Linked DNA regions of Homo sapiens: regions 1 and 3 are each linked to region 2. Evidence: promoter capture Hi-C in 16 types of primary human blood cells and fetal thymus (Javierre and others, 2016). All regions are on one chromosome and are shown on one strand. Each heading gives the region's core, a stretch centred on a gene start or on the middle of the fragment in contact. The rest is flanking DNA. Distances are from core to core; before and after follow the strand shown.

The links. Contacts are between HindIII fragments. The CHiCAGO score rates a contact against its expected background, and 5 or more counts as called.
Region 1: a contact is called between a fragment that was not itself captured here and the fragment with the promoter of MRGPRX2 in region 2, in 1 of 17 cell types (M2 macrophages). The highest score is 6.1, in M2 macrophages.
Region 3: a contact is called between a fragment that was not itself captured here and the fragment with the promoter of MRGPRX2 in region 2, in 1 of 17 cell types (M0 macrophages). The highest score is 5.3, in M0 macrophages.

The regions. Positions count from the first base shown.
Region 1 is chr11:19,809,590-19,813,855 of GRCh38, reverse strand. All of the region lies in intron 1 of NAV2 (neuron navigator 2), which reads right to left. Among named protein-coding and RNA genes, the nearest start is that of MIR4694, 52 kb to the right of the region's middle. The HindIII fragment of the contact is 962 bases long and covers 2,177-3,138 here.
Region 2 is chr11:19,058,096-19,062,776 of GRCh38, reverse strand. MRGPRX2 (MAS related GPR family member X2) reads left to right here and starts at 2,060. Exons shown (of 2, transcript NM_054030.4): 1 at 2,060-2,158. The HindIII fragment of the contact is 233 bases long and covers 2,040-2,272 here.
Region 3 is chr11:19,771,636-19,775,925 of GRCh38, reverse strand. The region is part of intron 1 of NAV2 (neuron navigator 2); the gene reads right to left. Among named protein-coding and RNA genes, the nearest start is that of MIR4694, 14 kb to the right of the region's middle. RefSeq lists enhancers at 2,753-3,261, 3,262-3,769. The HindIII fragment of the contact is 3,025 bases long and covers 785-3,809 here.

The DNA.
Region 1 (4,266 bases), core at 1,408-3,907, 750 kb before region 2:
CACTTTATAATGGTCACAGGAATCCCGACTTTGACCCCGAGCGGGAACCCATAAGTTGATGCTTACAGGCATGGCTCAACCCACAGCAGCAGCGCAGTCCTCAGCAGTCAACGTCCCATGCCCTCTCTGGGAGTGTCTAGTTCAAAGCACTGTGGAAGCGTGTGAAGCCTCCAAGGTTAATTTTAGCTGAAGTCACGCACCCGCTGTGGTCAGATTTTCTTACACAGGCCACCTCCTGAATAGCGGCAGCTTATGTTACCCCAACCCACTGGGCGGCCCTCTGGCCCCCAGCCCTGACTCCAAACTGCTGCAATTCTTCCATCTCCATCTCCCCCATCAAATTCTCACCCTCCAAAATAATCCAACTCTCGGTGCTTACATTTTCATGACACACTCAGGGGAAATAAATCACTGTTTCTTTGGCTGCCCCAGGCAAACAAACCTGGGGAATCATTCCCCCACTTGGCCCACGCTTGGCAAAAGCTGGGCATGAAGCTCTAGGCCAAGGGACTGTGCAAACTTCACTTGAACCAGGCAGTGGCTGCTGAGGCCACACAAGAGCAAAACCTTACATGCTTTCCAACTCCTCCAGTGGGGTTTTGACAATCATCCTCAGAGCTTTTAGTCGCATGGTGCCTCCATGTGCCTCATCTTTTGCTTGACTCTGTTGAAAAGAAAAAACAACAGTGCCTGCCCTTACATTTCTCTAAAAGGCCAGTGCAGGAGAGGAATCTACATGTTTCATCGAAAGGTCTCACTCCTGCAAAGAAGAGTTTGAGCCTTCATTCAACTTTGTAGAGGTTATGAAAAGGCTACCGAGACATTGGCATGGGTGCCGGATTCCAGATTCCAACAAGGGAATGAGTATAGGCTTCAGGTGGAAGGTTATTAGAAGAAGTAAATTTCAGGCCTTGCCTCCTGCCAAGCTCAGAGATAGGGGCCTGGCAACTTCATGATGCAATTTGTGCAAGAGTTGCTTGCTGGACTGAATTCTGGTCTCCTCTTAAGATTGCCTTTTTTCATTGTGGACAGGACTATAGAAAGGCGATGGAAAAACTAAGCAAATCCAGAGTGGCCTGCTATGATCGCAGACAAATCCCACAGCCTGTAACCTTGAAGACAAAACTCTGGTATGCAGTGTTTAAATCAGGTGTTAAGGCCACATCTAGAAACTGCTCCAAGTAGGATGAAATGCAATATCTTTGCTCCACCTTAGGTCTACCTGTTACACTACCAAGGCATCTTAGGTCTTTCCTTCATATGACTCATTACTCTTGTAATTATTTAATTCATTCAGGTATTTATTGAGCACATACTCTGGTACTCTGATAATCTTAGAGGATTCAACAGTGTCTAAGGAAGTGCTCTCATGAGGCTTTATTCTACTGAGGATGAGAGGTAGGAGAGAGAGACAAAATGGTAATAAAAAATAAGCAAACTAATATTAGAGAATAATAAATGCTATGAAGATGCATTAGAGAGTGAATGGCCAGGAGTGGAGGGATAATGTGGTTGGGAAATCAAGAATGGCCTCTCTAAGCAGGTAATATTTGATTAGAGACCCAACTGATAAGAAGAGAGCAACCATGCAAAGGCTCAGGGGGTGGTTCTCCCAGACCAGCAGCATTAGCATGGCCTGGGAACTCATCATAAATGCAGATTATCAGGCCCCACTCCAGGCCTATTGAATCAGAAATTGTGGGGGGTGGCAGCTTAGCCGTGCAATTTGTGCAAGAGTTGCTTGCTGGACTGAATTCTGGTCTGCTCTTGAGATTGCCTTTTTTCAATGTGGACAGGACCATGGAAAGGCGATGGAAAAAATAATCAGCAGACTGGGTTTGAACAAGCATTCTGGTGGTCCTCATGCATACTACAGTCTGGGAACCACTAAGCCATAGGAAGACCATTCCAGGCAAAGGATTCTAAAGACAACGCGTATCTGTTTTGCTCACCACTGCAGTTCTCAGCCACTAGACCAGGGCATAGCACATAGTAGGAATTGAATAAATATTTTTTTTGACTGCTTACCAAGCTTAAGTACCATCCCCCTAGAATCCAGATAAAAATCACAAAAAGATAAAAATCACAAAAGGCTATCTGCATAAAACTTTAGCAAAAGCACGCAAAAAGGAAGAGGAGGCAGTCATTTACAATTCCAGGTGGCCAGTGGAAAGCTTTCTGTCATGCCAGAAACTGCCAGCCACTAAGAGCAACTCTTCCCAATCTAATAAACCTTGGCACCACAAGGTTGGCAATTAGATTTCCTGTAAAAGGCTAAATGTGGTAACCTTCTGCTTCCTGATTTTGAAACTCAGTAAGAAAGGCATTAGTGTGTGGCAGCTGGGATAATCATTTAATTGATCTTTTCCACCCATAGAAGCCTCCCTTCCCTGCTCCAACCCACTGACTTGTAAATCAATGTCACCTTCATTGTGAGCATGAAAAGGCAGGAAAAAACACCCCCCTTCCCAAACCAAATGGGAGTCAATTTCCTAATGAGGCCTGGGTGACACTCTAAATGGGTGCTGCCATTTCTCCCCCTCTGACCTCCTCCTTGGCCACCCACACAGCTCCATCCAGTCCAGTAGGAGAGCCCATGACATGCAAAGCAGAAGACAAGAGGCTTCCTACCAGCAGGAACTCCACAACAGAAAGGGTGTGGATTCTGATGTCAGCCGGACCTGATTCAAATCCCTGAACTGGATAATATTTAGAAAGCAACTAGACAGCCGTTTAGCATGTAGGAAGAGTTCGATAAATCACACACATTTTTCTCTTCCTCCTCAGTGTTGCTGTGTGTCATTCCACCCATTCATTCAACAAATATTTAATAAATACCTACAATGCACCCTTTCTGAGGACAGAATGATGAGCAAAACTGACACAGAGCCTATTGTCTTGAGGGAGTTGACAGATATTAATCAAATAAGGATGTCAAATAAAGATATTATAAAAAGATGCCAAAGGGAAACGGTGACAAAAGGTACAAAGGAGAAATATATGGCATTGTGACAGCCTATATTGGGAGAGTTCAATCTGTGTAGAGCTTATTAAAATACAGATGCCAAAATCCCAGGTGGGCATCTACCTCAACCTCAGGCCATAAGGCCCAGGCCCAGGTGTGTTTATTAACAAGCTTCACAGGATGTTCTCACTGTTGGAGTGAAAGCTTACAGATGAACAAAGATGGAAGGCTAGGATGAGCCATGTGGTAATGGATTAGAATTGAAGACTCTATAGAAACTAAAAACTGCTTTCAGTTTATAAACTATAGTATAGTTTATCAGTATAAATTACATACTGATCTATATAGCATGTCAGCGTAAAGGAATCTAGATAGGATATTCGTAGATACGTGTACATATCCTTGTTCTTTCAGCTGAAAAGTTCTAAAAATAACAACAGCCCAGTAGCAACAAGCAGATCTAGCCCCTGATCTTGGTTTCAATAGCATTCTCCAACCAAAAGAACCAGGGATCCTTGGAGAAATGATTCTTGGACTGGGGCAGGAAGAATTTAAAATAAGCCTGGAGCACAGTATAGTGCCAAAATGTAGGCATATATCCCCACTCCAAAACACAATGATGGAGTATGTCAAAGTGACACAGGAGCCAACTGAAAGAGCTCCCAATGGCCAAAGCTGACCAAGCTCAAAATAATTTGAGCAACAAAATAAGGTAGTATTGGATTATAAGTCAAAGTGTGAAATAATTGATACTGCCACAAAGAAATGATTGACTAAATAAATAGAAGAGAAAAATCTTCCATGTAAATAGAATTTCAAATAAAGTATGTAGATGTTCTGCTCTCAAGGTTAAGTGTGGGCTGCACAAAGAGTAAAACATGGAAAAAAGGGAAAGAGTAACTTTACAGTGAAGATACCGGCCAAACACTATCTCAGCCAGGTGATCGAGGTTAACATAAACATTAGCAAGTCATGTTGATAGCATGACCCTGATAGGATGGGATGAAAAATGTCACTTTACCTCTGTGTTCTTCCTCTCCAAAACCTACAACTTCAGTCTAATTAGGGGAAAAGCATCAGACAAATCCCAATTGGGGGGCAATAGCGATGATGTCCATTCTACAAAATATCTAACTATAACTTTTCAAAACCATTAGAAGCATCAAAAACAAGGCAAGTCTGAGAAGCTGTCAAGCCCAGAGAAGTCTAAGGATGCATGAGAGCTAAATGAAATGTAGTATCCTGGATGGGATCCTGAAACAGATAAAGGTCATTAGGTAAAAACTAAGGAAATCAGAATA
Region 2 (4,681 bases), core at 811-3,310:
ATAAAATAGAACTTCTAGAAATTAGTAATATAAAAATTGGATTTAAACTTCAGTGGATAGATTAAACAGATGATTAGACACAATGGAAAGAATCTAGTTAACTGGAAGATACATCTGAAGAAATTACCCAGAAAGCAGCCTCAGAGACAGAGACGAGACATAAGGAAAAGGTTAAAGAAATAAGGATGATAGAAGAAGAGGGCTAACATATGTTGAATTAGACTTCCAGAAAGAGATAATACTAAAAGTGATAATGAGAGCTAATAATTTTATAGTACTTACTATGTGCTCCTATTGTAAATCATTTATATACATTAAATTATTAATCTTCACAGCAAACCTATAGATTAATAATGTTATCCCCATTTTACTGATGAGGAAACAAACATAACAGAGTTACAAAATCTGGCTAAGGTCCCATAGGAGAAATGCCAAGTAGCCTGGTCTTGTGTTCTTCACCGTTATGTTAATATTTAAAGAGATTATAGCATTAAATTGTTTAAAAATGTTAAATGATGATAATTTTAAAATCTAGGAAACTCCACAAATCCCAAACATGATTTGAAAAAGAGTCACCAGATACAATTTGGTGAGAATGTATCATAGCAGAGAAAAATAAAAGCTCTTAGAGGAAAAAAAGGCAGATCACCACAAGCAAATGGCAACCTGACTGATGGCCGCAACAGTAACCCTGGCAGTCAGAACATGGATCTTCAATGTGCTGGAAGAAAGAAACTATCACCCTACAATGCCATGCCTGGAAAAACCATCTTTAGAAGACGAGGGTGAAACAATGACATTTTCAGATAGATAAAAGGAGGCATTTACCATGCAGAGACTCTCACAGAAGGAACTCCTGAAGAATGTGTTTTGAGAAATGGAAGATATGAGATGTAAAATGGGAGGATGAGCAAAAGCATTGGTGATTATGTGGATAAATCTGAATAAACACTGACTATTTAAAACAATAATAAGTGTTTCATTTGTTGGAGGGAAACAGAATCAAAATCAAATAATAGAGCACAGTAGGTTAGACAGTAACAGAAGTTAAAGCTTTCTAAGGTCCTGCTGCTGCTCATGAGGAAAGCAGATTTCTGGGGACAAATGCATGGTTTACCCACTGCACCAAAGTATAATACAAGAAAATGCTGAGTCTCAGAACTCGCCTCAATCAACACATGTTCCCTGTCTGAGGTCACCCAGCTGCTCTGGAATGCAAAGGGGCATGATCTTGTATGGTGTTCATCATTGTGTCTTCATTGCCTGGAACGGTACCTGACATATCATAGGCAAACAATAAACAGTGTTGAATGAATGAATAAATGAGTGAATAATTTCTTCTGATTGTCTTAAATGCTTCATAATTGTTACTTATAACTCAATTTGGCTGCAGCATAGGCACATGAAAGGAAGTCATAGGAGATAAGGCTGAAAATATTGGTTGGCTCTAGATGATCTAAAAATAATCTAGCTAATAAATATCATGATGTAGAGGGAGAAACGTGACAGATGGTGCATGTGATGTGCTAAGTCCCCTATATTTTATAAGGAGACTCAATATATCTAGTTGTTAACATCGATAAATCAAAAATAGAAATGTTGTTTTATTACGCAAAGCTTTTTTAAAAAAAAGAATGGAAACTGTATGCAGTGGTTGCTTTTGGGGAATGAGACTTCGAGAGACTTTGCATTTCATTTTATACACCTTAGTGTCATTTGAAATAAACCTGATTTTGAAAGGTCAAGTAAGCCAGGGCCTTGAATGCCAAGCAGAAGAGGGCAGACTATTCTTTAGCTATGAAAGCTCACGTCGCTTGATTGGTCTGCTTCCTGGATGCTCATTGTGGGCAATGAAAGACTTCAGGACGGTGATTCCTTGCAGGGAGTGGGGCCGGAGAGGGTAGGGGAGAAACCAAGATAAGTGATTGGAGTCAGGGCAAATGCTGAGAAACATCTCATGTGGTTTCCTGTGTCATACTCTTATTTTCCAGCACCCTCTGTACAGGAAATCACAGGGTTGTTGAGCATCTTGATAAGCTTCACTCAGTCATCAGGTTTCACTCCAGATCCTGCAGGCATCTCCCCATCCTCAGCTGTTTGCCAGTCCCAGGAAAGCACTTCTCAACTCACCAACTCCAGTAGAAAGAAGGGTGTTAAGGTAAGAGTTTGTTCAAGAACCATCTTCTTTCAAAGGCAGTTTTGGTTTTTACCTTAGTCCACATCCTGATGAATTCATTAGGAAAAGAAGACAGGAAGCTCCTTTGAGGAAGCTTTGGATGCTGGCAGCTTAGATGCTGGGAGATCCGAATGGGGTCAAGCAGGTTCGTCCCACTTCTCTTCTATCTACCAATATTCTCCCCTTCTCTTCGACCATTCAAATCTGAAACTATGGAGAGAAAGATTTTGCTGATTTTAATTTAGGGGCAGGCTAGAATGAAGTCATTACTTCCCTAAGCTAAATTGTTATTTAAAACCTCAGGTTGCACTGATTTTCTTGTTATTCAAAAGGTTTTTCCTTCATATCTGTCATTGTCCCAGCAGAAAACACACATCACACACTCTAAAGGGGTAGTTTAGAGGAGTTTAGTGAAGAGACTGTTTACAACGGCGTGAACAGGGATTAAGGAATGATGAAGCCCTCAAAGGCAAGTGATAGTGGAGGGCTGTTACCGTTGCTAGGTCTGAAGTGATAAGGAGAAAGAGAAGTTCTGAGAACTCAGAATGTGCTGTAGCGGTAACTGTAACTGTAACTATAGCTGTGGCTACAGGAAAGGGCCACCAGGCAGGGCTATGTCCTTAGGTAGAAAAACACTGCCACTGCCAACTCACAGCCCTTCAGGGCGCAGGGAGAGAGCCAGGAAATTTTTAAAAAATCATCCCCCAATCTACTGTCAATGTGTCCCTTTGGCTGAAAAAAAAAGTCACCCTCCAATCTCCTGTCAATGTGTACCCTTTGGAGCCTGAGTGAAAGACAGCCCATTGACGAGGCACAGACATGTCTCCTCCCAGGATGCAAAGGCAGGTAGAGAAGGATGGACATGAGATCCTAATAGCAAATAGGAAAGTCCATTTCTTCCCATAGCCTCTTCTCAGTTTGTCTTTCCTGAGACTTTCTCTATTAATGTGATTGAATCAATTTCTCATTCTATCACCTCCCTTTTTTTTAATTGTTTGACCTTCCCATCTAGTGTCACTTCTTTGGACTAGTCTCTCACTATCATCATAAATGCCTTGAGAATGGAATGTGGTTGGGAAAAAAAGGGATTGGGAGTACATAGGTACTCCCAGCTATAAGTACACAGGTATGTGTAATGTAAGTTTATGATTTTGGCTTCTCTAAAAAGAAACCTATTATAGTGATAATCAAAAAGAATGTTTACTAGACTTGGGCTGATAACTCTAAGACATCAAACATCAAGGCTCCTTCCAATTTCTATTTCCCCATCCCTAAAGCGGTACCCTTACCCTCATGGTCCTACATGGCTCCCAAACACATCAGCATTCCAGCCAGAGAGAAGAGAAAAAAAGAAAGAGTACAGGAGTAGCTGGTTATATCACTTTCTCTCACCTCCCCTTGACCATCACATATGGTTACATGGTGCCATTAGCATAAAGGGAAGCTGAGAAATGGGCCTTTTTCTGATCTAAGACTCAGAATTATTATGTGTGAGAAAAGGAGAATGGCTTTTGGGGCAACAAGCAGTCTCTATAGCCCGATTCTCTTTTAGCATCTGTGCTCACCTGGAGATTTTTCTCAACACTGCCTCACAAATAGTGAATGATGTAGACATGGAACAGAAATAAACCTAGGACAGGGCCCCAGGAGACTGGAGCTGGTATTGGACCTGCTTTTCACCATGTGATTCAGGAAACTCTTTTGTACACGTTAAGCCTGTCTTTCTTTGTTAAATGAGCGTATTACAATAGATGGCCTCCAAGGGATATGTGTTGGAGGCTGGGGATATAATAGTGAACAACCACAACAAAAATGTTGAGCTTAATGAGGGAAGTAAAAGAAAAAACAGACATACACTTAAAAATACAGGTGCAGGGCCGGGCACGGTGGCTCACGCCTGTAATCCTGGCACTTTGGGAGGCCGAGGCGGGCAGATCACAAGGTCAGAAGTTCGAGACCATCCTGGCTAACACAGTGAAACCCCGTCTCTACTGAAAAAAAAAATACAAAAAATTAGCCAGTCGTGGTGGTGGGCACCTGTAGTCCCAGCTACTCGGGAGGCTGAGGCAGGAGAATGGCGTGAGCCCAGGAGGCGGAGCTTGCAGTGAGCCGAGATCGAGCCACTGCACTCCAGCCTGGGTGACAGAGCGAGACTCCATCTCAAAAAAAAAAAAAAATACAGGTGCAAACTGTGTTCAGTGCCACGAATAAAAAGGCCAACCTGCCCTGAGGGAGGACAACAGAAGTGGTTTTCTTCCATATCCTCACAAGGCCAACCAGGGCTACAGGAACTAAGACAGCATGTGATGGATGCATTCAGTCCTTGATGCCAATTCTGCACCCCCATGGAGGACACATTCACTTTCCCCTTGGAGGCCTCCAACCCATGAGAGTTTTCTGCAGTGTGGAGTGATTGACGGCTGTTTTTCTGAAGCAAGAAAGAGCTCTTGCATTCAGTTGCTTATTCTCAGTTGGCTTCTATTCATATCTCTTCTCCTTATTTGA
Region 3 (4,290 bases), core at 1,048-3,547, 710 kb before region 2:
AATCCCAGCTCTCTTCTATGACCTGCAACCTGGTCTCCCACCCTCTGGCCAGCTGTGTTGCAGCAACAGTGGTCTGCTTTCTTTTTCTCAAACACATCCAAATCATTCCTACCTCAGGACCTTTGCACGTGATAGTCCCACTCCCCGGAGCACTGTTTCCCCCTAGACTTGCCCATGGTCTCATGTCTAATGGCACCTCTTCAGGGAGACTTCTGACTCCTAATGTTGAAACTTCTCGTTCCCACACTCTCTTCCACTCCATTACTGTTGTCTCATCGTCATTGTTTTGCCTACTGAGTTAACTTAGCTAACCTGTATTCTTGTTTCTTTTCTGCCTTGTCCCACTAGACTACAAATTCCAACAACCTTGTCTGTTTTGTTTCCCTACTGTTCCCCAGTACCCAGAACAATGTGTGGCCCATAGTGGGAGCTCAGTAAATGTTTCCCAAATGAAAGGCTGTTGATGATTGTCCTAGTGTCCGTCCATGCAGCTTCCTCTACAGCTAGGACTGAGCCAGACCCAGGCAGCAGATCCCACATCCTGCCTCGGGCCCTAACTTAGACTGAATGACTACAAGAGGCCCTTCTATGTACATCTCTACACACATTTCTGAAGAATGAAACAGAGGCAGCAATATTTGCTGTCTCAAGGGAAGGGGCACAGGCTAGGACAACATATCAGAAATGAGAGAGCATGTGTCATTTGAAAAAGCATATTCTGTATTAAAATATATTTATATATTTGGAAAACAAATCCTAAAATAATTTTTCCAAAAATAAAGCTTGACAAATCTTATTGGCTAAGAGAGCAAAACACAAGATATCTCTATCACAGCTTTTTAAAGCCTAAAGTTCCTTGGAGTTGAGTGGCTGGATAAAGAATCCAAAATCCTGATTGTGTGAAAATACTGCAAGATCAGGGATTTATACATTTTCTGGGAAAACATCATTAGGTTCATTATACTTTCTAGGATAGCCACAACATTTACGATCTATACATCTGCAGAAAGTCATTGAATGAGCAACTAGTTTCCAATCTTTGCTGGAAAAAGGTGAAAAAATACCACTCATGGTACAAGGAGAGATGGGAAGGTGTGGAGGGAGATACAGAAGGTACCTGCCTCAGCTTTAATTAAAGAGAATAAAGCCTGTGACCTTTCCCTTCAGATCTCACACACCTTAGGTCATAGGTATTCTAGCTCATTTAGCAAACACTCCTTGAGCATCTACCATGATGCACTTACCCAGCTTTGCCGAGGGTGTTGAGAATCAGGGAGGATTCCTTGTCTGGGGTATGTGTCTCTCTCTGTGTGTATGTGTGTGTCCCTACCATGCACACACACAGTCTAGTAAGAAAATGGACAAATACACCAACAGTTGCAATGTAATGCAACAGGTGCTACAAAAGAGGCCTGTATAGTGTACAGCTGGGTCATAAAGAAAAAAGCTGGCTGAGCGCGGTAGCTCACACCTGTAATCCTAGCACTTTGGGAGGCCAAGGTGTGAGGATTGCTTGAGTCTAGGATTTCAAGACCAGACTGAACAACATAGTGAGACCTTGTCTCTACATAAAATTTTAAAAATTAGCCAGGTGTGATTGTGCATGCCTTAGTCCCAGCTACTTGGAAGGCTAAGGTGGGAGGATCATTTGTGCCCAGGAGTTCAAGGCTGCAATGAGCTATGATGGTTCCACTGTACTCCAGCCTGGGCAACAGAGTAAGACCTCCACAAACTCTGCAAAAAGAAAAGAACAATGCACAAGGCTGGGGAGCATGGAAGGACTTCACAGAGGTGATGCTGACCTGCTTCTGGCAGGTTTGACAAGAGGAGAGAAGCATCTCAGGAAGGTGGAATAGCATGTGCAAGGGTGTAGAGGGGTGAAAGTTCATGGCAGGTTCTGTGTGTTCACATCACATGGGGTTATTTGGTAGGCTGGGACAAGCAAGATTGCTGTAAAGGACACTCTATTCTTAATTCTTATAAATAGGGGAATGATTTGTCCAAGCTCCCATTTTAAGAAGACCTAGTAACAGCAAGAAGATAGCTTTAAAAAGGTAGAGACTGGAGGAAGGGAGACCAATTAGATGTCTGTTGAAATCATGCAGGGGATGGGTATGAGGACCCAAGCAAGAAGAGGTGAGTGGAAGAGATGCCTGATATCACCAGCATGATGGTACAGATGGTTCCAAAGGGTAATGGCTGTGAGTTCACAGGTGTCAGGACCCTGTAGATTTGCAGAGACAGAAGTGGCTTCTCACAACCTCCTCATCCACCAAACCCCTCCTACCACCTTTCTCCTTCCTCCTATTTCCATAATCTTCCACCAAGACCTTTGATGTGAAGTAGCGGAAAGAGATCAGTCTGTGTTGACCACATGGAACAATGCTTATGAAGGTCTGCCCTGAAGTGTGGTCTGGTGCCTTCCAGCTGTTGTCCTCTTTTTTCAGCTCATGGCTTTCTGACCCATCCCCTGGCCCTGACTGCCAGCTTAGCCTATCTCCCTGAGCATGACCATTCTTGAACTCTCATGGTAGCCACGAGGTAGGGTCCCAGTGTTCTGGTACTGTGGAGCCCCTGGTGGGGCTGACCCCTCAGAGTCTGGATCTGCCTTTCACTGAGTGGTGTCCTCTGTTCCAGACCTTTCCCGTCCCACCATACAAGAGACCTGTCCCACATCGTTCAATCACTCAACACTCCCATGTCTGCCTCCCATGCTTCTCTGAATTTTCAGCACCTGCCCAGCTATGGCAGCCACATGATAAATATCTCCTGAATGAAAGTTGGACTGTCCATCTTGCTCATCAAGGTGGAATGAAGAGGGGTTCAGGCCAGGAGGCAGGGTTGAGGCCTGGCATCCCAAAAGGTGCCACTGGTGTTTCCTTGAGCAAGAGCTACTCATCAGTGGACCTTCTTTTCTTCACTAAGAAACTGATGATCTATAAAGTTCCTTCTCACTCCTAAATTCTGCAAGCCCAGCCTCTGTCTGATAAACTAATTTGTGTCCAGCTGTTAATGGCTTAATGTATTTCCCAGATAACATATTTCAGTTTAACAGGGGTCTTCCACTCTTTCAGCCAAAGCAATGACTAATGGGAAAAAGCTCAGACACGGTGGGGGCCGGCCAGGGGAACTTCAGACAAAGTAGGCTCTCTAGACTGCTCCCATGCATGATGTGGGCTGACGCCTCTCCACCCACACATGAGGCAAGGCTGATGGGGGGATGTCAGCTTTTACATGGTCTTAAAATGACAAAAGAAGGATCAGAAGCACTGTGGCACCCCATGGGGAGGAGGGAATGAGCTAGATAGCTTGTCAGAGGGAGCCCATTTTGCCTCCAAATAGCTGGGCTTGAATATAAAAATACCACAGAAGAGCTTCACATTGCCTGCCGCATGAAAACCCTAGCCATAGTAGTGGCTATTTATTGAGCATGGTACTGGACACCTTTCACAGCAATACTGAAAATACCTCATCACAGCAATACTGAAAAGGATCCTTTTTGCTATTTTGCAGAGAAAGGCTCAGAGATGGAGAGTGATTGATCCTCTTCATCTGACTTGAAAGCCACCAAACAGGAGTAAAACTCAGGCCTCCCTGCCTGGTCCCCTATTTCTGCAGTTGTCTGCATTACTGTCATATTACATGCAGGAAATGAAACCCCAGAAATGCCATCTCTAGGATCATGAAGGCAAACTGTGTGCAGACATTTTTGCAAGTAGCTTAAAGACTTAGTCTCTTTCCTTCTCTGGGGGTACCCAGAGACCTTGGAAAGAAAGGAAGAAGATGTATAAAAATTAAAATAAAAAGCTTGTGGAAGTACACAGTTGGTAGGCTTTTCAGAACTTCAGAGTCGAATTTAAGAAAAGCACTAATCCTTCCTAGAGAAGAAAGGACTCCTGTCCACAAGCCAGCGACAAGGAAGGCCTGAGCACAAGAGGTGCCGTCTCCCCTCCACCAGCCTTGGAGGGGAGTAAGCCTCCTACCAAAAGGTCAGCCTTGGAACACTGGGGTCTGCAGGGGGTTGAAGGCTGTTGGAGGTTTTGAAAGTAAGATGTATGGCTTTCAGGAGGGCAAACACAATGTCACACTGACAAGCCTACGAATGAATGAATGAATGAATACGCCCCCAGAAAGGGCTGGGTTGGGCTAGCAAAGGATTTCTCTCCTTCCTCTCTTCCCTTTTCTTTTTTCTTGAGATAAAGAATTATGTAAAGGGATCTCCCCATTGCGCATACTAAATGCCACTGCATTTAGTATGTTCCCTTGACAGGGTTTAATTTGTCACTTCCT